Regions from separate parts of the Homo sapiens genome. Here all the other regions are linked to region 1. Evidence: promoter capture Hi-C in human tissues and cell types (Jung and others, 2019). All regions are on one chromosome and are shown on one strand. Each heading gives the region's core, a stretch centred on a gene start or on the middle of the fragment in contact. The rest is flanking DNA. Distances are from core to core; before and after follow the strand shown.

Region 1 (3,932 bases), core at 1,021-3,520:
TTAAGGAATCTCAGACTGCACAGCTCTGCTGTCTCATTCCAGGGGTCCCTGGGGTGCTCCGCTCTTGCCAATTCCGGGCACAAGGACCACCCACTCTGCCCAGCAGCCTCTGGCCCCACTCCCACTGCCCCAGCGAAATAAGTTCCAGCTTCCAGGCATGATTGATTATTTGGAACAGAGCCTTCCACTCCGGACTGAGACCCAACCCCTGCAGAAAGTCCTAAACTGGGCTGCGACCACTTTGCTCCCAGGAGCAGAGGAGCAGGGGAAAAGGGGAGAATTCTTTAAAAAATGACACGCGAGAGAGTTAAAGAAGGAAAAAGGCACCAAAGTGATGAAACAAAAAGAACTGGAGAATAAGCACTGCACAGAGAGAAGGCCGTAGCAGGAAGGACCGGCAGTGACTTTCAACAGTGCTTGAGAGCAGAATTATGGCCGCGAGAGGGAGTGCAAACTGGGAGGCGGGGCAAACCCGGGAAAGACCTCCCAAGCAGGTTCTGCGAAGGGGCCCCACCGCCTTCAGCCCGCCTGGGTCAGCCTTATAAGGGGGAAAGGGGACAGAAGTCTGCAGAACAGAGATCCTAGCGTAGCCGCTCAGGGTACCTTCCCAGGTCACCATTGCTCCTCTGCCCTCTCCACATCCGCCCTCCCGTGAGCGCAGGATGCACGCACAGGCAGCGGTTACAAAACTCAGCGCAACGTTGCAACCCGCACAAAAGGCGCACACAAAATCATTAAAAAGAAATACACAGAGTGGAAAGAACTCGCACAAGCTCCAACTCGCTAAAGGTGGAAGGAGTCAGGTTACAAACTCTCCCTCCCCGGCCTAAATGCTTTGCTTTAGTTTGCAGAAAATCGTTTGTCAGTTTTTTTCTTGGTTATTCATTATTCGGGCAAATGCAAGTATGTTTTCTAGCTGAGTTCACCAATCCAAACCTCAAACCACATTCCTCCACTCCAGGCCTCCGTTCTGTCCGCGGACTTATGATCCTGCCTGCCAGCAGGAGTCTACCCTGAAGTCGCGTGGGATAGATAAAGTGAGGAGAGGAGGATGAATGGACAGACAAACGAGAGCAATTCTTCTACCTGTGGGCTGTCCTACGCCTTGCAGTGCCGGGTCCTGCGGCGACCACTGAGCCCCTTCGTCCTCGCCCTCAGTCCCTTCGTCCTCGTCTTCGGTCTCCGCTTTCCCAGTCGGCCGGGGCTCGTCGTCCACGACCCCGCACGTGCCGCCGACGTCGCCCTGCCGATTCCGCCGCAGGAGGTGGAACTGTAGTGGTGCCGGCGGCTTCTCCCCTGGGGCGGCGGTGGCGAGGCGCTCGCTGGCGGCGGGCAGCGGCTGGATGAAATACGCCTCCCCCAGCAGGTAGAAGGCGCCGCGCACGCCCTCGCAGAGGCTGAGGGCGGCAGCCGAGCTGGGATCGCCATTCACGGTGCCGGAGTAGAAGCAGTGCGCCAGGTCGGTTTCCGGAAGCGGCGTCTCGGACCCGGATTTGCGCCCCACGTTCTGGAGCGTGAAGCCGGGCGCCAAAAAGCTGCTGTCGGGCCGCAGCTCCAGATCCAGCTGCTGGTCAAAGGCGTGCAGGCGGAGGCGCGTGGTCCCGTGTCCCGGGGCGCGCTCCAGCTCCGGCACCACTAGCTCCTCGTCCTCCTCGGAGGGGCGCCCGAGTGCGTCCGACACGGCCAGTAGCGCCGCGGCGAGCAGCAGCAGCGTGGGTACTGGCCCAAAGCTCCGAGACCCCGGAGCCCGCTCCGCGTTCCCCATGTCGCTGCCCAGCTTGCGCCTTCCGAACCCCTCGGGCACAGCTCGCTGCATTGGAGCCCCAGGAGACACCGCTCGTAGCAGCGCACGGAGCGAGGGACCTTTAGTTCGGGTCGGGAGAGCAAAGCCTCGTTGGCCTGCTCTGGATTGTTAAAATTAACAATTTCTATTATTCGTTGGAAGGGCGCGCAGAGCCGGCTACAGCCGAAGCTCCCGGAGTCACTAAAAGGAGGCGCTGCAGTTCTGCCGGCGCGCGGGAAGTTTTTCTTCCAGCGCAAAGTTGGAGACACTGAGAGGCAGGCGCAGGCAGAGTGGCTCTGCTGGGACAAGAAGCGCTCTGGGGCGCCTCCGGGGCTGAGGCAACGCGGAGATTGGTGCCTGGCGCCCCTCTTCGGCCTCCGCCTTGGCTGCGATGTTGCTCACTCTGCTCAGGGCTCTCCCCTCTCCGTCCGGTAGCGCACCCTGGCTTTGCAATAGCCCCTGGCTCGGAGCCGCTTTCCAGCGAGTGCAAGAACCGGGCAGCCGAGCGGTCCTTTTATAGTGGACCAGTGAAACCCCCACCCCCACCCCACTCCTCCCCTTTGGCCCTTTTCCATCCCAAAGACGCCGCCCCCGGCTCCGTTGGTGCTAAACCGCGCTCCGCGCTGCGGGCTCGGGAGGGGGAGGGGGCAGCCTCCGCGCTGGCTCCACGCCACTGCTCGTCAATCTAGGGGCGGAAGGGGCGCTGTGACCAGCACTTTGTACTGCTGGGGCCGCTCCAGGGAGAAGACTCTCCCTTCCACCGCTTTTCTCCCTCGCCGGTTTCCTGGACCACCCTTCCTCCCCACCGCCCGGTTGCGGTAACTCAGTTACCGCGCTGGGCTGCGGTTCCCAGGAGGGAGGGTTCGGTTGGAGAACGCAGTCCCTTCTTCAACATTTCCCTATCCTGGAGCTGCCCTGGGTCTCCTTCCCTCCTCCCTCAGTTCCCTCTTCCCCAATCTAGGAGATGAGCTAGGGCTACACTTTCTAGAAAAATACCTCACCCCACTTCTCCACCTTCCCAGCCTGCCAGGAGCTCCTTAGCCGCCGCCTGCTCTCTCTTCGCCCCAGCTTTTCTAGGGAAAGCTTGGCCCTGCGCTTCCCCCAGAAAGCATGCCTGGGTGAGGGGCCAGGTGACACTTCCTACGATCTGGATTTTAAAATATGTTTGCTTATGCCTTCACCCTCCACCAACCCCCACCCCGCACGCCACCTCTTCACCAGAGACGACTTTGTGAGGGCCCGGTTTCACATTTCTGGAATGGGTGATCTGGGACGCGGCTCAATTCCCTAGAGCATAAGGAGGGAATTGCGCTTTTTCTTCTTCATTCGAGAAATGATCGGCTCCCGCCAGTCTGCGTGCTTTCACTCAACAGCAGCTGCAAGCCCTAGGCCAGCGTCGCAGAAACGGCCAGGAACCCCACTTTCCTACCCGGGGGCCAGCAGCGATCGCTGGGGCTAGCAAGCGTGCAGAGGGGGAAAGAAGGAAATCGGCTTCCTTCCCGGACCCCTCCTTCCTCTTCCTACCAGGAAGGGAAAAGGCTATATCCGCGTTACGAAAGCGAGGAGAGGTCCACCAACAGGTCCTTAGGAAAAAAAACTGAGTGGCTCTTCTCTCCAAAAAGTGGGAGGGGCTCAAGGACCCAGAGGAAGGACGTGTTTCACAGGCGGAAAGCCGCGGGGACAATGGCGAGAGCGACCGCCCTAGCCCCGGGCGGACCCGCAACCCTCACACTCGCGCGCCCCCGCGTTAGTGCTCGAACTGGTCTCCGCCTTTCCGCCCCACTCCCGTCCGGTCTCTTGGTTGGCTCCAAGTAGATCTGGGTCCTTTCCTCGCTCCTCCCCAGATCTTCCCCACTTCAGTTGGCCCCAGCCAGAAGCGTCCCTTCTAGTTCTCCCACACGTCCCTCTTACAAGCTTTCTTTTCCGGATGCTTTCCAACTTCTTTTTTCCTAGCGAGATTGCTTACTTGAAAAACAAAAACAAAAACATTGCTTTCCACTCATCAGGAAAAATCAAATGAGCAAGAATGGCAGAGAGAAGCAACTCAGCTTACTTCTGAAGGGCTTAGTAACGACCTCTAGTCCCTACACATTTAGGAGTGGGTGGTTTCGTAGATTTAATTTTGGTTTCCTAAAATCACCCTCATCGT
Region 2 (3,932 bases), core at 844-3,343, 1.8 Mb after region 1:
AAAAAAAAAGAAATGGAGTTAAACATGTAAGAAATGTCCTCAAATCTAAGTTGCAGTACTCCTACACTGATGAAGCTTGCTGACTAGGACTTACATTTCCATTGTAAAGCATCATTATAAAAGTGCACTTTCTTCAGGGAAAAAGATACCCATGACTTTCTCCCCACGGTTCAAGTGCAGTGCTATGTTTTCTTCACTGTGGGAATATTTTCTAGAAGCAGCAACAAACCAATGCCTGTCTCTTGCATACATATTATGAGGCCCTATTGCAGCAATGCATGTCAATTTGAATAAAGTTTATAATTCCTTTCCCTCTCTTTTCCTCCCCCATCTCCATCCAGGAATTGAATTTACAATCATGGTGCAATATACAAAACTTTCTAACCATGGTAGGTAATTGAGTGAGAAAAGATGAATTACATATAGTTTACAAAATTAGAACTACCTAAGATGTCTATTCTTTTCTGTGAACATATATATCCTTTACACTAGACTGATATTCTTATAATCTGGTGGGTTTTTTTTTAAGTTTCTATGGTACGGCTTTTAAATTTTTCTTCAACTCTTCACTATGGAGCATAATGTTAGTTAGGATTACTTTTGATAATTCACTCTACTGGTTTTCATACATTAAAAAAAAAACATATTGAAACCTGTCCATCAGACATTTTGCAATTTAACAAAACTTTGAAATAAAAAGCTTTCCAGAAGTTTTCAGAGTGAAAAATATGATCAAATAGTGTAAGCCAAAGCCAAGATTTCAACTTGAGACTTCGCCATTTTCTTGGGCTCTACGGCTATTAAGAAAAACATGGTAGGCAATTTGTAAAACTAAATGACATTTTTTGGAAGAAAAAGTCCTTATATAAATTAGATTACAGTGACATTTTGCTGACATATGAACCACTAGAATATGGAATTTAATAGATGACATCTGATTCAAATCCTATCCAAGAAGTGTGTTACCGGAAGTAGCACAAACGCCTCCACATGGCATATGGCACAGGCTCACCTAGAGAATTCGCTAACACAGCAGCCTCTAAGGACAGCACAAAAGTGGTTCTCTTTTTGAGTTTCAAAACCCTTCAGAGCATTGAGTGATATTTTTCAATCTTGTAAGCATTGCTTTTTCAGTGAGGCCTTTTCCCACTCTATATAAAATTCCATAACCCCTTCCTAATCTCTGAACGTTTCTCTGGAATGCATGGTTCAGAATGCCTCTTCTTGTCTACAGGGACAGAATTTCTTAACTGCAAAGTAGGAATGTCCCAGCATGGTGAGATACAAGGGTGATATGGGTGGCTTCTCCCTTTCCTCATTTATTAATAAAACTGACTCTTATTTGTCTGCAAATAAGGGAAGAATTTAATTTCCCACTGCATTCAAATGATTCTTAGAAAGATCTGTAGTTCATGACCCTGAATGAAGCAGGAAGACGCAGGGAGTAAGATGCTGGAAGGAAGAAAGGAATAAGAAAGAAATACATTCTTCGGGGTTTTACTAGGGTCGTCTCTCTCTTTCCCATTTCCTTTCCTCCCTCCTTCCCCTTTTCCCCCTCCTCCTCTTCCTTCTCTTCCTTCTTCTTTTCCTCTCTCTGTCTCTCTGTCTCTGTCGCTGTCTCTCTCTCTCTCTCTCTTCCCCACAAACCCCCACCTCCGAGAATGATAATGAGATTAGACCACAGGACCAGCAGAGAGGAATGTTGAGTCACAGAGCTGGAGTCATAAGCACACCAGCATGAGGACCAAAAAGTCAGGAATGAACTGAGCTTTCAGATTCTGCTCATTACAATAAATTCTTGCCAAAAAAATAAAAATAAAAAGTGTAGATTTTATTTCCCTTCTGGTTATTTCAAAACCAGGAGGAGGGGCACTTTTCTTTGGTCCCTTGTTTAAATCTTGTACTGGAAAACCCAAAGTGAAATCACTAGAACTACAGTCCATATGGTATGGAATGCCATGTTTGTCTGCCTTCCACAAGGCTAGAATTTTATTTGTTAATGCATTATAATTAGGTTCAAAATGGAAAGGCTTAACGATTGCTTTCATATTTTTAATGCTAGATGTTATACAGGAACTAGTGCAGTGATCTCCAGAGTGGGGTAGATAAATCACAGGAAGTCTAAGATAGCCCACTGAGGTATGAAAACAAGTCAAAAGTTATGCTGATTTTTATAACAAGAAGAAAAAAATAATCATAACTAATATTTAAAGTACAAATAATGGCATCTTCACTAGGTCCATATATCAAGTGCCACTCATCATGTTTAGTACATGGGGTCTCCAGAGGGAACATTTTGTAATAAACAGGGGTTGACAGTGGAAGCTTCAGTCACTGATCACTTTCAGCTTGCAGATCAAATTGTCTAGACATAATTTCTCTAATCCTCAAAAAGTAGCTTTAAAAGATTTTTCAAGGCTGAAGATAGTGCTAATAATATAAGCAACAAGGAAATGTAGAACTAACTCTTCTGCTTTGGGGAGAGGTTCTTCGCTAATCACATCATGAGATTTTGAAAAACAATGGCAATTTTCATCAGATATGACAAGACTTGCCATTGAAACAATAAAAAAATTATTGGAAATATGGACTTATATCCAGCAGTATTGAGAATGAACCGTGCCTAAAATGTATGAGCTAAAGATAATTTTTAAAAATTAGTCTTGTTTGAAAAGTTATGAATTTTTATGTAAAGTCTTATTCTAATAAAATATTAGATTTTTAAGAAACTGTAGTTTTTTTAAATTCTATTACCTGCAAAATTCTCTCTAAAACTTCCCTGACACATGAAAAATTCCTGTGCTGAAATGCTAGCCTACGCCATTGTAGGAAAGCTCAAAATTATCAGAAAATTCTTCTTTTAACAAGTTGGATACTGTGTTCTTGTAATTTGTTTTTCTATTTCCTAGTCATTTAAATATTTTCCAGATTGAATATTGCCAGTTCCTACCCTACAAGTACCATTTGTATACCCTTTGCTATTCTAGTTTCTCATTTGTGGATGGATTCCAGTTTCTCTCTCTCCAACTCAAAAAACTCAACACATCACTCAGGATTGGATCTAACCATCGTGGCAGGCAATCAAATAATTGTCATTCTTGCTCAGTTACTTCACCAATATTAAATAAGAAACCATCAGGTACCAAGCACTTTTTAAGGCACTGAGGCACAGTGATACAAAGTATATAAAGTCTTGCTATGATAGAGCTTAGGCTCCAGTGAGCTGGCCACAGACAATTAGTTGGTAAGGGAAAAAAATAAATAAATAAACAAGAAAAATAAGACTTAGACATAGAAGCCAGACAGTGAAGTACAACAAGGCAATAGGTCAGAGAGCGACTTGGTGGCTAATTTGAATTGGGTGGTCTGGAATAGCCTTGCTGAGGAAGGTTACATGTATATGAAGATCTAGAAGAACCTTCCACACAGAGGCACAGCCAATGCCAAGGCCCTAAGATGGGAAGCAGTTTAGCATTGAGAAACTGAAGCACATCTGGCAGGGCTGGAGTAGAGGGAGGCAGGGAGAACAGTGCAAAATGAGACTGGAGATGCAAACAAGGACCAAATAATGAAAGACCTTGCATGACATGCTAAGATTATGTTATTTTGTGCTGATTTCATACTGAAGTCCCTTAATGGTGTCAGTATCAAATCTCTCACTGCTTCCCTTTCACACCTCATAAGTACTTACTGCTAATCAGCCAACCATTGCTGTAAGCTCTCAGACTGCCACCTCTAGTCACAATACTATGAGTTCTCTCAGCTCTACAAAGCATTGGCCATTGCCGCATGGAGAGATGCATATAAAAGTTGTCTCTTCACAATCCAAACAATCTGCTGATTCTTCCTACCTTAGCAGCTCATGATATGGCACTTTGTGTTCAGTGCCTGGACAAAATAATATTTCTAAAGGTCATAAATTAAAATTGTAA
Region 3 (3,932 bases), core at 853-3,352, 1.7 Mb after region 1:
TGCTATCTCATTGCAGTCTTCAGGAAAATACATTTCCTTGAATATTAATGATATTGACTACCTTTCCATGAGTTTATTGGCCATTCATAAATTTCTCTTGTGAAGTATCTCTTTCAGTTTTTTTCCCTATTTTAAATTAGGTTTGTCTTTTATTATTGAGATTTGGAATTTTTAAAATATCAACACAAGTTATTTGCCAGATATATGTATTTTTAATATATTTCTCTATATGTCTTATCCCCATTTTCTTAATGATGTCTTTCATAAATAGAATTTTCATTTTTATAAAATTCAATTTATAATTTTTTATGGTTTCTCTTTATTAATCCCATTTAAGAAATCTTTGTGCCATGATTATGAAGATGCACTCTAATGTTTTTTCCCAGAAGCTCTGTAGGTTTAGCTTTTACCTTTCTGGGTTTGTTTTGTTTTGTTTTTTGAGATGGAGTCCCACTCGTGTCACCCAGGCTGGAGTACAATGGTGCAATCTCGGTTCACTGCAACCTCCACCTCCCGGGTTCAAGCAATTCCCCTGTCTCCACCTCTCGAGTAGCTGGGATGGGAGGCGCCTGCCACCATACCTGGCTAATTTTCATATTTTTAGTAAAGATAGGGTTTCACCATGTTAGCCAGGCTGGTCTCGAACTCCTGACCTCAAGTGATCCACCCGCCTCAGCTTCCCAAAGTGCTGGGATTACAGGCGTGAGCCACTGCGCCCAGCCCTAGCTTTTTGGTCTATGATTCCTCCCAAATTAATTTCTGTGAACCATTACCTTAAGATGTTGAGATTTAATGTCCAGAATCTCATTTGTTCACCTTTGAAAATTAAGAAACCCTGGCACAGTGTTGACTGGAGCCACTTACCTTAATAGAAAATAAAGCTCACATATATCCATAATGAAAAGCAGAGACCAGCACAACCATAGTCACCTGACAGTTTTAAAATCCAAGGCCAGGATCTTCTCAACTCAGGCCCACTCACTTACTCCACAACATACTTCTTCTTTCCTCAGCATCTACTACTTGTGCTGGGACCTTGGTCTTCCCATTGTTCATGTCATTCTTTTCCTCACAGTTCCCATTCTTTTCTCCCTGAAATAAAGAAATTTCAAAATATACCATGTTTCATGAAAAAGACAAAAACATAAAATTACCTTCAGGAAGATGTATTTTGATATAAGTTTTCTTTATCCATAAGAAATTAATAGATTTGCAATAAGCATTGATATTCTGGGAAATGAAACACCCTTGTTTTGCCCACCTAACAACTTTTTATTTCCAAAACCCAAGACCCATCCTCAACAATTTACTTTACTTAACAACATATCTAGGGTTGCCAGATAAAATGCAGGTTTCCCAGCTACATTTGAATTTCAGCTAAGCAATAAATAATTTTTAGTATCTATCCTAAATATTGACCTTATATTTTTTAAAAAAGTGATTTATCTGAAATTCAAATGTAACTGTACATCATGTAGTTTTATTTGATAAATCTGACACCCCTACCCACATCCAATTCATCATTAAACCCTCTAAATCCTACTTCCTCAATATTACCCAAGTCAGTCCATTTATTTCTATTTCTAGTACCCTTACTTTTGAAGAAGACACCACATTTATATCGATTGTTTTAATGATCTTTTAATTGGCTCCCAAACTCCAGTCAAAACAACCTTTACTCTCTGTTAAAGCTAAAACAATTTTTTCAAAACAAATCTGATTGTATCACACCCCTTCCATTGTTTCCATTAATTTAAGATCAAGTCTAAACTCCTAAACTCAGCTGTCATTGCTATATCCTATCTCTAAACAATCACTGTTTTGCACTCTGCATACACTCCAGCCATTTTGAAAAATCTTTCAGGCTCCTGGAAAAGCTTAACTCCGCCCTTTGTTTCCAATATTTACATATAAATTTTTTTCTATCTAAAGCATGCTTTCAGCCAATAACATAAATCTCACTACCCCTTTCTGCTGAACCTAAATCTTTTTGCCCTCAGATAGAAAGATAATTTTCCCTTCTCCTGCTCTGCTCTGATTCAGCTCTCCATAACAAGGTTGTAATCACCTCCTATTCACCCTTCTGGTGAAGGAAGGATTTCCACCCTCAGGTGATGGGGATGGTTGAACATCCAACACCTGAAACAGGACAGACGATATTGACAGTACTTGTTAGTTGCATATAATCACAGACCAGTGGAAACAGATGAACCACACAGGGCCACAGCGGGGTTTCACTGGGGAACAGAGTGAACAATCAGGAGGTGTGGGAGGCAGGTTTAGTAGTTTAAAGAGGTTGAGGTGTCCCCCTGGATCCCATGGGAGGATCACATTGGCTCATTTGAATTATCATACGGACTGGCAGGGAACTGAAATCTTCTACTCAGGGATAAGCAGAAACTGTCCCTGGTTTCCTTGATAAAAAGGGTTGTTTGATAGGGGACCTTATCCATGGGAGGAAAGTGAGGAGGGAAATTTGTGGCTAAGCCATTCAAGGCCCTCCCAGTTTTACTAGATGTCAAGGCAGCACACGTAATATTGGGACTTAATTTTAGCCACATAACTAATAAATTTGTAAGTATGTGCAACGGCTCACACTTGCTTCCAGAATGGCACCTAAAAAACAGATTTACCTCTCCCCAAATTCAGATATGGAATTAAATGTAATGTCAGGAAAATTGTCTAAGAGTTGGAAATGGGAAAAAAATGTTCTTTTGGTGGAGTTATGGACTCCAGAGGTTATCAGATTCTATTGAATAACGTACTTTTGATTGTATTTGTAACAATTAGGCTATTTGTGAACTCGGTAGGGGTAGAAATCGAGTTGTAGAAAATGGATGGTAATGCAAGTGATTTTTGACCATATCAATGCAAATGAATTCTGTTGGTAGAAATATTCATTTCCACACTGTAGATGACCCTAAACATATGTCATTACATTATATTTTATTGCCTTATAGACTATTAACCAATTTTGAATCATACAGTAGCAAATTTATTTCAGCATTCTTGTGTGTATGTGTTTATATATACACGTGCATATGTATTTAAGATATATAATTGTATATTCTTCAAATTCTTCTTTGAACAGGTTTGAACCTCTTATTAGTTTCCTCATTAAGGAATTTAATAAGACCTTTAATGCATGTTTGTATTTTCATGAGAGTCATTATTTTACCTTTCTGGAAGTTATACTTCAGCAACCATGCTTTAAATAAACCATGATTTAAAATAGCTGTCTTAGAAAAAGAAAATAAAAGTATACTTAAATGTAGATGTCTATTTTTTAATGTTTTTATTAATTTGTAAATTTAAATAATATATATTTAAGAGAGCTAAGTAAACATATCATAATACAAATAGAATGGAATAAGAATGACCCATGTCAAGGCAGTGTGGCAATTTTTACCTATTCAAAATTGTGCATATTTGTTAGTCTGATTTAACACCAAGAGCATTAGCCTGGATCCAATTCCTTGCTCAGCAATGTTGAAAAATATTACCCTTGGGGCATGCAAAGGGCCCCAGTTTTGCTTTCCTATATATTCAAAGTTTGACTGCTCACTCTGGTGACTGAACTTTCTGTGAAAAAGCTTAATTCCCAAGTTCTCCTCATCGTGTAAGCAGCTTACATCATGACTAAAAATTTCAAGCATCAATTTGACTGACAAAGCATAAAAGAAGAGAGGCAGTGAGTTTTCTGGTGCAAACAGATGTCAGATCACAATTCTGAATCTCTAAGAGATCATTAAGAAATCTGACAGTAGGCAAAAAGTGAGATTTTCTTGTCAAAAGTGAACACCATCAATTTCTGAATATAGTTGATAGGTGACTCGGCTTCTACCACTTTGTACACTTCTTACGTAACTGAGCTGGTGGGAAGCAGTGTCTGTAGGCAGCAGGTGGGCAAAGATCCTCTAAGAGAAGCAAGC
Region 4 (3,932 bases), core at 692-3,191, 1.6 Mb after region 1:
CTGGAATGAAAACATATAATTTTGAACAGAGATTGGAGCATGAACAGAAAGTAGCCTGCTGAAGGTAGAGAGGACAAAAGAGAGAGGAAGGATATTCCAATAAAGGGGACAGATGCAAGGAGCTCCAGATGTGGGGAAGAATTAGGTGAGTTTGAGAACTGGCATATACACATGCAGTGTTTCTAAGGTAAAGAGAAACGTAATAGCCAATATTTATTCAGGATGTATTATATTCCAGGCACTATGCTACATGCTTTACAAAACTAATCTTGATTAAGGTTCATAACAATTAAGTAGGTAGTTGTACCCCCTCTTCCTCATTTAGTTATTGTTACCTTCATCATCATATTTTGTATTTTGGGAAATGGATACACACAAGGAATGAAAGAACAGATTCACAAGAACCATTTAAGAACCTATTGCTGCAGAGTAGGAAGAACTGAATTTCCAGACTATGCCATCAGTGATTGGAATAAAAAAGAATGAATGGATTCATGATTCATTTCAAAGGTAGAACTGAAAGAGGTTGGATGCAACCAACTTATTTTTAAAGTTCAAGAGAATTGTTGAATACGAGGCCAAAGCTTTAACTATGGAAAACAAGTAGCAAATTCCTGCCCCGAGATGGGTCAACAGAAGGTGGAAAGTGGGGTTTGGGAGGCATCCAAAAATATAAAAAAAATAACCTGTAAAATGGGGAGCCAAGATTTGCACTGCTCAGTTTGAGGTAGAACAGGTAGCTGGAAAAGGAGAATGGGAGCTTTGCAGGGAGAGATGGCCAAGGACGTAAGTTTAGATGACTTTTACTTTGAGGTAAAAGTTGGAGTCCTAGGAGTGATTAAAATGGTAAAAAGAGAAGGAGGCAAATTAAATCAAGTACTGATAGTTGTGGATCAAAAAGGATCCATACCGTTCATCTGTAAGTCCAATCTATCTTGCTTTCTGCTCAAACATTAACAATGCCAAGAGCCCTGGAATCTAAAGTACATATTGCTTTTCTGATTTTTTGCTCCAAAGAGATCAAGAAGAGCAACCACTATCTGAGAACTGCTCCTTTTCCAAGGCCTTTCCTGATAGAAACATTTCTAAGCCCTGTGCTCTCTATGGACCCTTCAGAGATCCATAGGCTCATGTCATTCTATGATCATACCCACGGACCTGATTCTCTTAACTATTTATCAGACTAAATGTCAGATCAGGTGGGGACTTGAGATGTGGGTGTTTTAATGTTGTTGAGGTAAATAAAATAGTGACCTCCCACTGAAGGGCACTGGGCCTTACAGCTTGGTATCGTTAAATGTGTTCAGTCTGATTTGTTGAAATGTTCCATCCCTGCTTTGTCATAAAAGAAGAAATTATATATTTAAAAGGGAATACAGCAAATGTTTAAAACATGTTGCCTTTTCTTCACCATCTGTCTTTTATTTATTAAATTCTGTCCACTTAAAATTATCCTCTCCCCAAACTGCAACTGTCAAAATCCCATCTTTCAACCTCTCATATCATCTCATCTCAAAACCCCATTAGAAAATTGTTCCCATTCTTCTTAAAGGGAATGAGTTGTCAATCACTCTATGCCCTGGGCATTTATATCTGCTAAAGCCTTTGCTGTGTTCTCCTATATTTTAGGGATGAGTGCATGTGTTTGTGCTTTTGTGTGTGTTTGTGTGTGTGTGTGTGTGCATGTGTGTGTATACATGTGATTGGAGTTTGTGATTGGAGTTGCTGAATGAAGTTGCTGAAAGAGACATATGGCCATGTAAGTAATAACAAGCAGAAGGGCTCTATGAAAACACAAGGCAGAAATCATTCACCATTTCATGTTGAAAATAACACTTTCAGCAGAAAAATCCTCATTTGAAAATAGCAACGGTATAATTAGCCTTCAACTTTACTTCCTTATTAGTGATGCAGTTCTCCATTCCACACAATGCAACACATTGTAATAAATGGATGTTCATATAATGGATTGGAAGAGCATAGAATCCAAACATCTGGATTCTTCCACACATGGCGCATTAGCTGTTTCTGCAAAAGCCAATAGGAATTCCATGTTGATGCAATTAAATGTGACTGGAATAATACATGCTTCTCACATTTTTAGTTATACATATGTATATGTTTGGCATACAATTCATTATAGTCACAGAAATTTTAAAAAAAGAAAAGCTTTCTACAGCCATGTCTGTTAACAATTATTGTGCTACTTCCTGGAAGCAGGGAAAAAGTGAGTAGTCCTGGGCTGCTGGCCACTTCACCACATTGCCATAGTGAGAGAATGCCTAGTCCATAAATAAATTTAGTCCAGTATTAGGACTTCAAGCCTGCTCTTTATGATGGCAAAAATATGCTTCAATTTGAAATTGCCCAGAATTGAGTAAAACGAGGGTTTTATCCAACATTTCTTAATTTGCAAGAACACAAAATAGGTGAATACTTGTAATTCTTTCTCTCGTCACTCTCATTCTAAACAGGCTTGCAAATGGTGTGGCCTACACTGAGTCAGAATGAGAACACAGCTCATTAGTTTCACAGCACTGGGAGAGCCAGCCTGGAATAAAATCCAATAGCAAGGGAATCGAGGAAGAAGCTGATTTTCACGCTTTCACTTTCATTCTCTCATTTCCAATTTTGCCCTTTATATGCTAAAGATACAGTAATCTATGCCCAAGTTGGAATGAGATTTCCTTCTTACGTTTCTGTGCACATGAGAGCCTCAGAAAGGGAGGGCATCCTCTCATTGCTCTTTTATAACTTTTACAAAGGGAGAAGATTCACTTAACCTTCCTTTATTTGATTATCTATTATAGAAAAATATTGAGTTACATAATCTCTATATTGTCTATTACCCGAAATCTCTCACTTTCATTCCAAACTAAGTAAATACGAAGCAAAAAAGTGGTATGCCGTTACTAATTTAGGTTGCCCAAACTGTCCCACAGGGAAACAAATAAGTATGTTGTCATTGATCAGATTTTCTGCATACAGACACTGAGATCTGTGCACAGGAGGTTTCTCAGCATGTCTTCTCAGGAATATTGCTTGTAAGGGAGTGAAGAAGTAAGACTTTTCCAAAGGAAAAGTTGAAATGTAGTAGAGTTCAATCAAAGGCTCCAGCCCATCCCACAGAGAGTCTGTAGAACTCTGAATCTGTGGTGACCCTCTAAAGATGTCCCAAACTGAGACAAAGGGGGCCAGGTGTTTATATACCCAACAGACTAGACACTGGACACTTGAGGGAGTGTTCTTCCATCAAGGGCAATTTCTACAGGGGAACACAGCTAGGATCCAACAGCAGCCAACATATTCAGGGTTGGAGAACGAGCACCTTGACTCTGAAGGCATTAATCTGGGTGACACACAATAGTATCCACTACAGTTCACTCTAATATACGATGCTTGGTTCTACTTGATTCTTGTAAATAAGCTCTCTCAATCTAGAAACATCCTCTTTGGGATCCTAGTTGGTCTCATTTTCGAATGCAATTTGTTAGAGGAATTTTGGTCCTCTCCACTAGGGCTAGTCTCAGGGCTGCAAATGATACTCAACAGTGCCCACCTTTACTCCCCATTCTATATTCCATACATTCTCAGCTTGCACCTCTTTTGGTCTAGGTTGTCTACCTGTTGGGGGGACCCAAATACTCATCTTTGAGGGGTCTGAGGTCTTAGCCACCATGCAATTCTTGGGTCACAGTTGCAAAATTTTTGTTTATTACCATCCTATCACAACAGGGAAGGGGAGTACTAAGCAACACACTAGTAGGTCAGTGGTGCCAAACATGTTCCTCCCTGCCCCAAGTGTGGTACAGCTACCTTTTCTACCCCTAATATTTGGGGTCAACTACCCTGCCACGATGTAGTCATTTCTTCCTACTCATCCTTTGATATAAGGAGCCTGACCAGACAGCAGTAATAGCTTAAAGCTCAAC
Region 5 (3,932 bases), core at 1,030-3,529, 1.6 Mb after region 1:
CCAACCATGTGGAACTGTGAGACAATTAAACTTCATTTCTTTATAAATTACCCACTCTCAGATAGGTCATTATTAGCAATGTAAGAACAGAGTAATACACAATTTAAATAATGTATAGGTAACATTTTTCCTGGATCAATCTATACGGACTTTGGATGAGAGTAAGAAGGAAGACAATGGCCTCTTCTCTTTAGAGTTGAGGAAGTGACTATAACAAAAGCTAAACATCAATTTGCCAAGAAAAAATGCAAATTTAGCAAGGATATTCCAGAGAACAGTACCAGCCAGTTCTGCTAACACCAAATGTAGCAGGGAAATAAAGAGAGAGTAATTTGTATTTATGAAATAGGGAAAGCAAACTACCTTGGGGATGACTATTTTCTTATTCCTAGTAAAAGACCCATTTTTGGGAAATCACAACAGTCAACAGAGAAGCAGGAGAAACAAAAGTCTTCATTTCCCTCAAAAACACTTTCCTTGACGTAAAAGGAGCTTCGTTTGTTCTCTTACTGCAGTCACAGCAGGATGAAACCATATCATAATTCTTAATTCCAGGAAATTTAGGACAAATTATGAGCAAGCTATTCTTTTAAAACAGCTGCTATTTTTAGTGTCTTTATAATTATTTAACTTCCTGGAAAGAATAACATATACAACTCTTCATCTTCCAGGCTCCAATGTTTGGGCTTTTTAAAAATGTTTAAGTAAATGTTAGAGTAGTTTTAATAAAAACATGCCAAATTCACCTTCTTCTACCCACAGTGTTTATAGGTTCTTCTGTATCACTATATTACCTAAAAAAAATGGTCCTGAAGGAAAGAAAAAGTGAAAGTGGGGGCTTTGAAAATTATATATTACAATAACTTTATATTTTGGTAATCATATCTTTTTTTGAGACGGAGTCTCGCTCTGTTGCCTAGCCTGGAGTGCAGTGGCGCAATCTCGGCTCACTACAACCTCTGCCTCCTGGGTTCAAGCGATTCTCCTCCCTCAGCCTCCTGAGTAGCTGAGACTACAGGCGTGTGCCACCATGCCCAGCTAATTTTTGTATTTTTAGTAGAGACAGGGTTTCACTATGTTGGCCAGGCTGGTCTTGAACTCCTGACTTCATGACCCACCTGCCTCGGCCTCCCAAAGTGCTGGGATTACAGGCGTGAGCCACAACACCCGGCCCAATAATCGTATTTTAAATAGTGATATTGTAGTTCAACCTGCTGGATTATGTTATTTCAACTCTATCCTTTCTTAGAACAGAGTAGCTAATACATACATTCAAGGACTCTTAGAGAATTTATACCACCTAGACATCGTGCAAGTGAGAGAACTGAATTCAGCCCGAGAATCTTCAACAACTTACCTATGATACCATAGGGAGAAAGTGAAAATGGCTGATGAGGGAAATATTTTCAGGTGACTATTTTGTTCAGAGAAGCAGAATAAAATTTCTCACCTGTATGGACCCAGATTTACACCCTGAAGCAAAGTAGAAACTTTTAACTGTGCCCAGCCTTTCAGCTTGTAGCCAGGGATAGATGGAAGGCTTTGCACTCACTCCCAACAAGAAAAGAATCCAGGGGAAAAAATCCAGTTCCGCCCCAGGCAGGCAGAGTGATGGTCCTGAGCAGAGCAGGCAAATTTTTTCTGTAAAAAGACAGACAGAAAAAATTTTTAGTGTCTAGGGACAAGAAACAAATTATACTATATACTTTTAAAATAAGTGAGAAAACAAATTCTCAGAATGTTTTCGTTGATGAAATTCAAAATACAATGATAAGTGAGTACTTTTTTTGTAATATAGGTCTACCAATGAGAAAAGCTGAATTCTTTATAGGGTGGATAATGTGTCACCTAATGAGATTCAAAGGTAAAAACTGTCTCTGGTGTGTGAGCCATACAAAAACAGTGAGCTGTATTCGACCCATAGGACATTGGGTACCCACCCTGGCATTCAGTGTGGCTCTATGTGGTACTACCTAAATGTCCTCCCATCCGGTAAAGAAAAACCTGGGCTAAATTTCTTAAGACAGGTGGGGTAAGATGTAATGTTTCTCAAGGAGAAAAACTCTCATTATTTTAAAGCCTGTAGCAAATACAGCAGTTGTACCACTGAAAAAGGCCACGGCGCAGCAAATTGAAAATGGTGCTAATGAGAACAGCAGGAAGACCTTAAGAATCATGACAGGAATGGTGTTCATGATCAAGGGGCTCTAGAGGAATTAGGCCTTGGTCCAGCCTTTAGGTAAATATCCATATTTGCTTTATGTAAATATCCATAAAGCAAAAACTTCCAAAATTGTTCTCAGGCTATGAAGTGTGTGCTTAAATTATCTTACTCCAAGGCAACATGCCCTGGTGGAGGAAGGTCACATATTCACATCTGTATAATCTTTTTGTTGCTTCTTAAACTCTGAGTCTTTAACACCGAAATTCTTTTGCCTCTCCCAAAGCTTGGTCATTCCGTTCTAATTCATCAGAGGTGATCAGTTTTCTAAGAGAGAAAGAATGAGATACAAGTGAGGAATTTTCAAGCTTTTGGAGATAAAGGAGGAATGACAGTGTGTAGTTTGATGCAAAAGGGAACACATAGAAGGAATATTCACTTACCAGATACACACTTGCTGAATAGATGTTCTAGAACTCTTGGGTCATGCCACTAATGGACATGTTACTGATGAGGTTCAAGAAGTTTCAAGAGCCCTGTGGAGATCTAAAATTGTAGGCCCTAAAAAAGTGGCTAAATTAAAATACAGGAGGAGTCTAGAGATAAATTTTGCTTCTAGAAGGAATTGCGTCCATGGCTGGAGCTTGTCAGCCAATGTAACTCACACCATCTTCGTGAGTAGTGTTAGCTTTGAGGACCTTTGTGATCACTGAGTAATTGCAGAACTTCATGTTCACTCAGGACAGTGATTGCTGGATTTAGAATGTGTGCAGCTTCCAATGACTAACTCTGTGCATCACTTTCTCTGACTCCATAATCCCAGTAGGCCCTTCTCCCATGAGAAACTAGGGAAGCTTTATCAAGAATGAAGACTATGAGATATTAAGCCACTTGCAAGCTAACATATTAGCCCCCACAGCTTCAACGTGATGGGCTGAAGACACTGGACTCCTAGATCAAAGAGAAAAGACTTTATTACTGAAGGCACAATGAGCATCCTTATCTTCATATTTTCCCAGGTGGATACAGCACACACAATGGGTTTGCATCATAGATGAGCAACCCCTTGCTGGCAAAACCCCAGTTTTTAATAGAGGTGCAGAAAAGAAACCCAACGTTTGCCCCAGATGAAGACATTGTATTTATTAGACTGCAAAGTAGACAAACACCTTTTCCTTCAGAGAGAGAAATCATCTCTATCTTCAAAAGCTGTTTGCTCTACCAACATCCTCGAAAAGACAGAGTGATCATCACCAATGCCTTTATTTGCAAGACATACATGGAGAATTGCCTCCCAATATGCCCAGACTTGCTTAAATTCATTCATGTCACATTCCCTATTGAGCTTCCAGATAATAAATGAATTACATCAACCTAATTCTTCTCTTTCCCTTCCCTGCCCAGTACACTAACATTTATTGGTTAGGCAGTGAGCAACTAATTATTTTTTTTATTTATTTTTTTTTGAGACGGAGTCTCGCTCTGTCGCCCAGGCTGGAGTGCAGTGACGGGATCTCGGCTCACTGCAAGCTCCGCCTCCCAGGTTCACGCCATTCTCCTGCCTCAGCCTCCCAAGTAGCTGGGACTACAGGCGCCCGCCACTACGCCCGGCTAATTTTTTGTATTTTTAGTAGAGACGGGGTTTCACCGTTTTAGCCGGGATGGTCTCGATCTCCTGACCTCGTGATCCGCCCGCCTCGGCCTCCCAAAGTGCTGGGATTACAGGCGTGAGCCACCGCGCCCGGCCAAGCAACTAATTATTGAACATCAT
Region 6 (3,932 bases), core at 911-3,410, 1.5 Mb after region 1:
TACAGGAAATTATTTAACCATGAGCCAAACTGAAGTGTCAACTTCCTGTTATCAGGACAACAAAAACATTATGGAAACAAATTCTTGGTTTTGAAATTTTTATGGCATGAGTACTCATGACTATAAACCAAACTTTTAAGATAAGAAGACTAACTTGTTTCTCAACATCAAATAAAATCACCTTATTACATGTATTTATCTTCTCTCAGTTTTTTCTGTGCTTTGTGAAGCCTCCTCGAGCCATGGTCACCTTAAAAATGGATCACAGTTATATAGGGAAAAAATTAAAAGTCAAATTGTCATTTATCTTAAATATTGAATGATAATTGATATCTTGGTTTGTCCCATATGATGAGTTGTATGACTCTTGGAATATAATAGGCTTTCTGAATGACTGTAAATAAATTTGGAACAAAAGTCAGTAAAGAAAAAAGTGGGAGTCATACTTTTTGTCATTATCATATCAAACAAACACAAACGCTTTTAACCATACCTAAAAAAGTTGAGTTTCCCAGATTTAGGGAAACTGCACAATCTGAAAACACAGTCACAAGACTATCCTCACTTCAGGTACCAGCTGTCTTTGAATGTCCCCAGGACCGCCCTTATTTCAGACCAGTTGGTAACAAATTCAGAGGTTACCACAGCCACCTTGGGTTCAAAATTTCACTAGAAAGACTTACAGAACTCACTGAAAATAATTGTACTCACAATTGCATTAATCAGAGGTCTAGGATACAAATTAAGACCAGCCAAAGGAAGAAGCACATAGACCAACTCCACAGCAACCCCATGGGATTGGGGAATGGGCAGCAAGAAAAAAACAATATAAACCTGGACTTAATTCTGCCTACTGGCTAGTGACTAGTAACTAAAGTCTAGTAAAGACTAGTAAACTCTGCCTTCTTCCAGCATCCAGGCAACTGTGGCAAGCTAACTTATGATTGGTTAAAATTTCAAATCCTTCATAGCTCCTGACACTAGTTACTGCCAGTAAAGTGGTAAGCTCATGAACTGATAACTCTAAATATTTTGTACATATATTTGTTTATATGCATATGTATTTTATGCACTTTTATTTTCTCACTTCTAATTCATTTCTTATCAGATTTTCTGCTCACCACCACTCTAATAAAATAACTCTTTCAAAGGTCTCCAATGGCTTCCAAATTGCCAAATCTAGCAATCTATGTTCAGTCTCATCCTGCTTGACCTTGCCAAGTTATTAGTATGTTCTCCATTTCTGTAAGACCAACCCTTACTCTTCTCCTTCTTCTCAGCCTACTCAATATGAAGGCAAAGAGGACAAAGATCTTTGGGATAATCACTTCCAATTAATGAATAGTAAATATATGTAACATACAAAATATGTGGTAATTGCCTATGTTATTGGTAAGGCTTCCAGTCAACAGGAGGCTATTAGTTAAGTTTTAGGGGAGTCGAAAGTTATGTGTGGGTTTTTGACTGTGAGGAGGTGCTGCTAACCTCACCTTACTCAAGGATCAACTGAATTTATCCCAGAATCCCCTTCCGTACGTGGTCTGGATTTGAGTTAGATAAAAGAGAAGCTTTCTTGAGTGAAGAGGGCATTTATTTTGGAAGACTGTGGTGGGAGGCCAGGGTGAGAGGAAGTCCCAGGGTGTTCACTGGGCTCTAGTTTCAGCTCATCTTTCTACTGTTTTCATCAACCAACAGCAGCCCCAAGCCAACCACCAAGCTCTAGCAAGGTGACAGCTTCAACAGACCTCTCTTCAAGCACTGCCTTATTTAAGTCCCAATTCAGCGGCCAAGGATGCACATCTTCTGGAACTTTTCTGCAATCTCTGACCTGGCCATCCAGAACAGGCTGTCACGGTTAGTGACTTTTGCTGAATATCACTTTCCTGTTCCCGATCTTCACATGCCCAGTTCTTTCCACATGATTGTAATCTTTAATTTCCATAAAAAATTTCTTCTACTTATAATATTTCTTGTGCTTTTTTTTAGACTGAATGCTAAGGGATAGATGTGTGAAATTTCAATTATTGTTTTTAGCAAATAAACCAAAACTTCATATTCTATGGCTAAAAGTGTGGTGTTCCTCTTACACGTGATGAAAGGCAGGGACTGACTCAAAATATGTATGCCTTTCAAAACTCTAAAAATAAAGCATGTCATCAGGCTGTGACAGGGATAAACATATAATGAGCACATATAGAATCCCAAGAGTTACCTTCACTGGTCACATATGTAGCCTTCTGCTATCGACTGAATTGTGCCCCACTCTAATTAATGTGTTGAAGCCCAAACCCAGTATGACTGTACAAAGAGACACTGTCTTTAGAAGGCAATGGAAGTTTATTTAGGTCATAAGTGTGGGGTCCTAATCTAATAGGACTGCGGAGATTTATAAGAAGGAAAAGATCTCTCTCTCTCTTTATCTCTCTCTCTCTCTTCCTCTCTCTCTCAAGCAGTATCCTCATGTATAAAATAATTCTTACAGAGGACTAGGTTTCTTTCTGGGAACCCCTTCAACTCTTTTCTGCCCCAATCGCTCATAACATCCCACTTTATACACTTCATAGTCCTCACACTCATCTGAGCCTCCAACCCAATCACCTCCCAGAGTCTATTCTACCTTGTGCAGCTATAACATCCTAATTTTCAACTTCCACTCTTTTTTTACTGATTTAATACTGCGGAATAAATCCTATATGAAAATATGTACTTACCACTGATCTTCCATGTAAAACTCTGAAACCCTAGTAGTTGACAATTTAGAAATTCTGAATACTTGTGCTCAATTTATATCATAAATTCTAGATTATTATTGACATTAAATAAGCAGACAATATCACAGGACACTTCATCATCTGACCTTGCTTGTCTTTCTCTAACTACATTTCTCCCAGCTCCACTTCTCTGGTCAAAAAGAATCATGCTTTCCTTTCTTTCAAACATGCTTTACATACGCTATTTTCACTGTCTGGAATTCACTCCTGCTGCATTTCCCATGTCTTACTTATCCTTGAGGTCTAAAGTTAACTAAAGCATTTTCCAAAGGATTCCTTGACCTTGAAAGATTGAGTCTTGTTCTTCCTTTACTTTCTGACTTACTATGGATAACCTCTCTAAGTAGACTCTCTACTTTTTAACAGCACATTATTTTCTTGTTTACTAGTGCCCTTTCCAATTTATTTGTTTATTATTTATAGCATATTAGAGAAATAGCCTATAAACATTAAGAGAGTAGGGGCCATATATGTCTTATTCACTCTTTTTTGGAATTCAGTTTCTGACACAATGAAGGTACATCTTAAGTTGACTAAATGAATGACAAAATACAGTATGAATGAAGAATTGATTAAATCATTAATAACTATGGTATCAATTTCCCTCCACATTACCTTGAAATCAGCCTTTATTAGTCAATCTTGCACACTGGAAAGCTGGAAGGCAGATGCTGTATCTAGCCAATTATTTTATCACCAATTCCAACAGGAACTCATACTCATAGATACTGTGCTGCTGTTAGAATAGCTGTCCATTATCTCTCAAATCATTTATTTTCTCAACTCTTTGTCTTGCCCTCTTTGTTCTCATTTTTTCTTCCACAATTGACTAGTTTTCATTCATCATGGATTAGTCAACCGCATCTTTCCCATAAAACCTACACTCAAAGTAGAGTGACTTTTCCCTAAATTCCTATTTTTCCCAGCTTTGACACTTGACAATACTCTGTCTTTCAACCTTTTGGGAAGCTATTGTCTTGCATTGTCATCAACTTTTAAACACGTGCATAACTTGTTATCTCAATTAAATTGTAATTTTTAAAGGAAAGGCATATAGCATATGACTACCTCTTTTATATTCTTAACAATGTTGAGAATAGTGCAATAAATGAAATAAACATCTTCACTGAATGAATGAATAAACATATCACTTATGGAATC
Region 7 (3,932 bases), core at 830-3,329, 1.4 Mb after region 1:
ATAAAAAGAGGTAGTTTTCTAAGTACAAAGTAGAAACCATGATTTCTTTAAACTGGGTATAAATTGGAAAAAAAAATACTCAACAGAGTGTTGTGGTGTATCATTAATATTTTAGGAAATTTCTAATATTAAACTATTTCTAGTTTTAAGAAGTTTAGACACAGAAAAACAATACATATTTATATAATATCTTTTCAAAGTATTTCATCAATATTTTAATCTCGTTAACTTTTCTCCCACTTTCTTAAGAATCAAAATTCCTTTTTAACTTTAATTCGAGTTCATGGGTACATGTGCAGGTTGGTTATATACGTAAACTTGTTATGTATGTAAACTTGTGTCACGGGGGGTTGTTGAACAGATTATTTCAACTGTTGGTACTAAGCCTAGTACCAACAGTTATTTTTCTTGATCCTCTCTCCCTCCTCCTACCCTCCACCTTCTGATAGGACCCAGTGTGTGTTGCTCCCATCTATGTGTCCATGTGTTCTTAGGATTTAGCTCCCACTTATAAATGAGAACATGTGGTATTTGGTTTTCTGTTCCTGCATTAGTTTGCTAATGATAATGACCTCCAGCTCCATCTATGTCCCTGCAAAGGACACCATCTCATTACTTTTATGGCTACATGGTATTCCATGGTATATATATGTAGCACTTTTTTTTATTTAGTCTATCATTGATGGGCATTTAGGTTGATTAGAATCAAAACTCTTAACTAACATTACTCATTTCTCTCTTTGAGGTTAGCATTTCAAAAGGTTTTGGCCAATTTTCTTTTCAAAATAATAATGTTTGTCTATAAGTTCCTCAAGCCCTCTAACATCTTTTTAAATCTATAAATGCCTTTCAGTGTATTTTCATGCCTTTTCTAATGAGATTCAGACTTTGAAAAAAGATTCCTGTTGGTATCAAAACAAACCTAAATAAAAGTATTCTCTTTCATTATTTTATGATGATTCTAAAATTATATCTATTTTACTTACCATCATTTTGCTTGATAATGCCCAGCTGATTTGATTATCATTTCTTGTCACAGGTAGAACTCTGAGGGCATAACCATATTTTATGCTCATTCCTCATTTTAAGTTGGTTATTTTCATCAAGCACTATGAGTTTAATCACTCTGAAGTAAGGTAATAGATGAGTTTACTGAAAACACAATTCATTTCCTAATTTTGCTGGCCAAACGATACTACTCCATGTTCATAAACATGAAACTCTTCAAGGGATCTGCTTCAAGGGGAGGCAAGATGAATGTGCTCTTGGGAGTAGGACATTTAGAGATACGGTAAATTACCTTGTCTAGGCACTGGCCAAGTGGTGCTGTGGAAAATCTCCAGGACATCTCAGCTGCATGAGCTAATTTGTCTCCCATGGACTTGTCTCTCAATGGCTTGGCTGTGGGCCTACTAAAGGAAAAAAGAAATTGTGTTTTTTACCTTCTCTAAAAATTGCACATTATTTGCACTTTTGAAATCTCATTTTGTTTCCATTCAGTGGTTATCAAAATTATTAACAAAAGCCAGATGACAATATTAATCATATTAAAGACTGTGTTTAATTTATATTTATAATGCTCATATAATGTCATAATGTTCTATGACTATACTACATAGGCCTCCTACAGATGATCAAATCTTTAGGTGAAATGTTTATTTTTTGTTTGTTTATGAACTGTCAATAGCCATCCATGTGCTGTTAAAGATAAAGGTTTTGCAGCCCGGCTCAGTGGCTCACGCCTATAATCCCAGCACTTTGGGAGGCTGAGGCGGGCAGATCACGAGGTCAAGAGTTCAAGACCAGCCTGGCCAACATGGTGAAACCCCATCTCTACTAAGAATACAAAAATTAGCTGGGCATGGTGGCAGGCGCCTGTAATCCCAGCTACTCGGGAGGCTGAGGCAGGAGAATCTCTTGAACCTGAGAGGCGGAGGTTGCAGTAAGCCATGATCGCACCATTGCACTCCAGTCTAGGCAACAAGAGCAAAACTCTGTCTCAGAAAAAAAAAAGAAAAAGAAAAAGATAAAGTTTTTTATAATATAGGTTGTTATAAAGAAAACAAAGAAGAATTATAGAAATATCTTTCTTATTTTGACTTCATAAAAGACAGCTTACTATATGTAACTCACTAGAGTTGTTAGACATCCCTAACAAGAAAGCTTGAGTAAGTCACTTAGTTATTTTAGAGTAGGTATGATTATTTAAATAATTTAAAGTTTCCTGTTGTTTTAAAGAAAAGATTTGTATCGTATTTTTTTAGAAAATGACTTTTCATGTAAGAAGGTCAATAATATGGCACACTTAAGGTAATATTCTCTATCATTTATTTTTTCATTTGACTTCTATGCTATTTAAAAATACAAAAAATAATAGTTTTGTATATGAGCATTTAGAAATGCTTTGGGATGATTCAAAATTTCCAAATCTTTCTACAAGTCAGGACTTTCAAAAGATATGAAGTAAGTACAGAAGTTTACATCATTCATGCATCTGACATTGAATCAGATACTAATCAGAACCCTGGCTGAGCTGTCCTATAGCTAAGGGTTCAGCTGTTATGCATTAAATCAATTCTAAACGCACTTTTTCCAACTTCTTCCCATCCAAATCTATTTAATTTGTCGTGTGTCCTTCATTATATAAGAGAGATTTTCTGAACAAATTCTCTGGCTTGAGAGAATCTGTTCAACATATTTACACTAACGTGTTAGTGATTGGAAAAAAAAGCCAATGAGATTCAACCAATTAAATGAAAGAATTGAAACCTCAGCTACTGACTCAAATTATTTTTGAATCGAGGGAATTTGCAGGATGAGCTTCCTGATGTCCTAGAATTGCTATAAGTTAATTACCCACCTGTAAATAAGAATATCTTCTTCAGGTATATAATAATGAAAGTAAAAAAAATAGAATTTTTCTTTGGTGCATATTTCCCTCTTACTGTTCCCTGGGAAAAGTTACTATATTCCAGGACCAGATTGTTTTACTTTGCTGTCTTTTCTAGCTCTAGAGTGATTTCAAATATTGGGTGTTCCTTCAAAGGAACAGAAATAGTACCAATTCACAATGCCATGCATTTGAGATATAAATTAATCAGCAGGAATTCATCACATTGTAATCTAGAAGGATAGGGCAAATCGTAGCTCATAATTATCTAGAATTCCAGAAGAAATAGGACAGAAATAGGAAGCAAGAAGACAAAAAGCAGTCTTGGTTCTCGTATCACTAAAGAGTTTCAATGGCACGTGATCTCAAATGAAACCTGGTGGCCATTGCTCATGTGTTGTGTTCCACAGTAACTAGAGGGGTGCACATTTGGTCTGGAGCAATCTTCATAGAAGAGGGGACTAAAGCCCTAGAAAGCACGAGTTCAACTGGCTGCAGCCTGCAAATCAAAAGCATTCATTGAGAAAACATTAAGAACCCATGTACACAAACAATAGGGCTTAGGTATGGTTGCCACTCTAATAACAACTAAAAGAAGTTGTATGCTTCTCCTAGATGATACAAATTTTTTAAGTAATATATTTTCTCATTTCTTCTTTTGCTGCCAGAGTGCTTGGAGCTAAATCTGTAGGCATAATTTTAGCAACCATTTAAAAAATTATGACATATATATTTTTATACAATTTTTTCCTGATGTGTTGTTTGTATTTCTATTTTTTAACATCCTGAATTATGTTTTTCCCCTATTTACTGCTTGCATTCTAATAAACTGCTTCCATTGTTTTTGTAGAACTAAAACAAATATACTCAATCATATAACAGTCAACAAAGAAATAAATACACAATAACAAAAGGTTTGCTACTCATCCCTTGCTTTTCTGCTTATTTACAATGATTCAGAGAATGGTTAGACTAAGGAAACGTGACCAAAATTAGCAATATTTATTTAACAATAAAAGCCAATCCTCTACACTCCATTAGC

What was found. The method cuts DNA at HindIII sites, captures the fragments that hold promoters and counts their contacts. A contact is called where the count stands out against the background at its distance.
Region 2: a contact is called between a fragment that was not itself captured here and the fragment with the promoter of ADAMTS1 in region 1, in 2 of the 25 tissues and cell types used here (dorsolateral prefrontal cortex and lymphoblastoid cells).
Region 3: a contact is called between a fragment that was not itself captured here and the fragment with the promoter of ADAMTS1 in region 1, in 5 of the 25 tissues and cell types used here (IMR-90 fibroblasts, dorsolateral prefrontal cortex, mesendoderm cells and 2 more).
Region 4: a fragment that was not itself captured here is called in contact with the fragment with the promoter of ADAMTS1 in region 1 in 1 of the 25 tissues and cell types used here (hippocampus).
Region 5: a fragment that was not itself captured here is called in contact with the fragment with the promoter of ADAMTS1 in region 1 in 3 of the 25 tissues and cell types used here (dorsolateral prefrontal cortex, mesenchymal stem cells and spleen).
Region 6: a contact is called between a fragment that was not itself captured here and the fragment with the promoter of ADAMTS1 in region 1, in 2 of the 25 tissues and cell types used here (H1 embryonic stem cells and dorsolateral prefrontal cortex).
Region 7: a contact is called between a fragment that was not itself captured here and the fragment with the promoter of ADAMTS1 in region 1, in 1 of the 25 tissues and cell types used here (dorsolateral prefrontal cortex).

The regions. Positions count from the first base shown.
Region 1 is chr21:26,843,139-26,847,070 of GRCh38, forward strand. ADAMTS1 (ADAM metallopeptidase with thrombospondin type 1 motif 1) reads right to left here and starts at 2,271. Exons shown (of 9, transcript NM_006988.5): 1 at 1,087-2,271. The coding sequence starts at 1,816. RefSeq lists enhancers at 1-17, 2,455-3,055, 3,056-3,655. The HindIII fragment of the contact is 5,494 bases long and covers 1-3,281 here.
Region 2 is chr21:28,613,784-28,617,715 of GRCh38, forward strand. It overlaps a transcript of HEMK2 not described here. Among named protein-coding and RNA genes, the nearest start is that of LINC00161, 76 kb to the left of the region's middle. The HindIII fragment of the contact is 4,494 bases long and covers 1-3,932 here.
Region 3 is chr21:28,576,289-28,580,220 of GRCh38, forward strand. It overlaps a transcript of HEMK2 not described here. Among named protein-coding and RNA genes, the nearest start is that of LINC00161, 39 kb to the left of the region's middle. The HindIII fragment of the contact is 4,643 bases long and covers 1-3,932 here.
Region 4 is chr21:28,452,937-28,456,868 of GRCh38, forward strand. No RefSeq gene overlaps it. Among named protein-coding and RNA genes, the nearest start is that of LINC00161, 84 kb to the right of the region's middle. The HindIII fragment of the contact is 5,820 bases long and covers 1-3,932 here.
Region 5 is chr21:28,428,772-28,432,703 of GRCh38, forward strand. No RefSeq gene overlaps it. Among named protein-coding and RNA genes, the nearest start is that of LINC00161, 110 kb to the right of the region's middle. The HindIII fragment of the contact is 3,705 bases long and covers 428-3,932 here.
Region 6 is chr21:28,294,182-28,298,113 of GRCh38, forward strand. No RefSeq gene overlaps it. Among named protein-coding and RNA genes, the nearest start is that of LINC01695, 67 kb to the left of the region's middle. The HindIII fragment of the contact is 7,138 bases long and covers 1-3,932 here.
Region 7 is chr21:28,210,940-28,214,871 of GRCh38, forward strand. LINC01695 (long intergenic non-protein coding RNA 1695) reads right to left here. Exons shown (of 6, transcript NR_126012.1): 3 at 1,301-1,409. Among named protein-coding and RNA genes, the nearest start is that of LINC01695, 16 kb to the right of the region's middle. The HindIII fragment of the contact is 3,011 bases long and covers 575-3,585 here.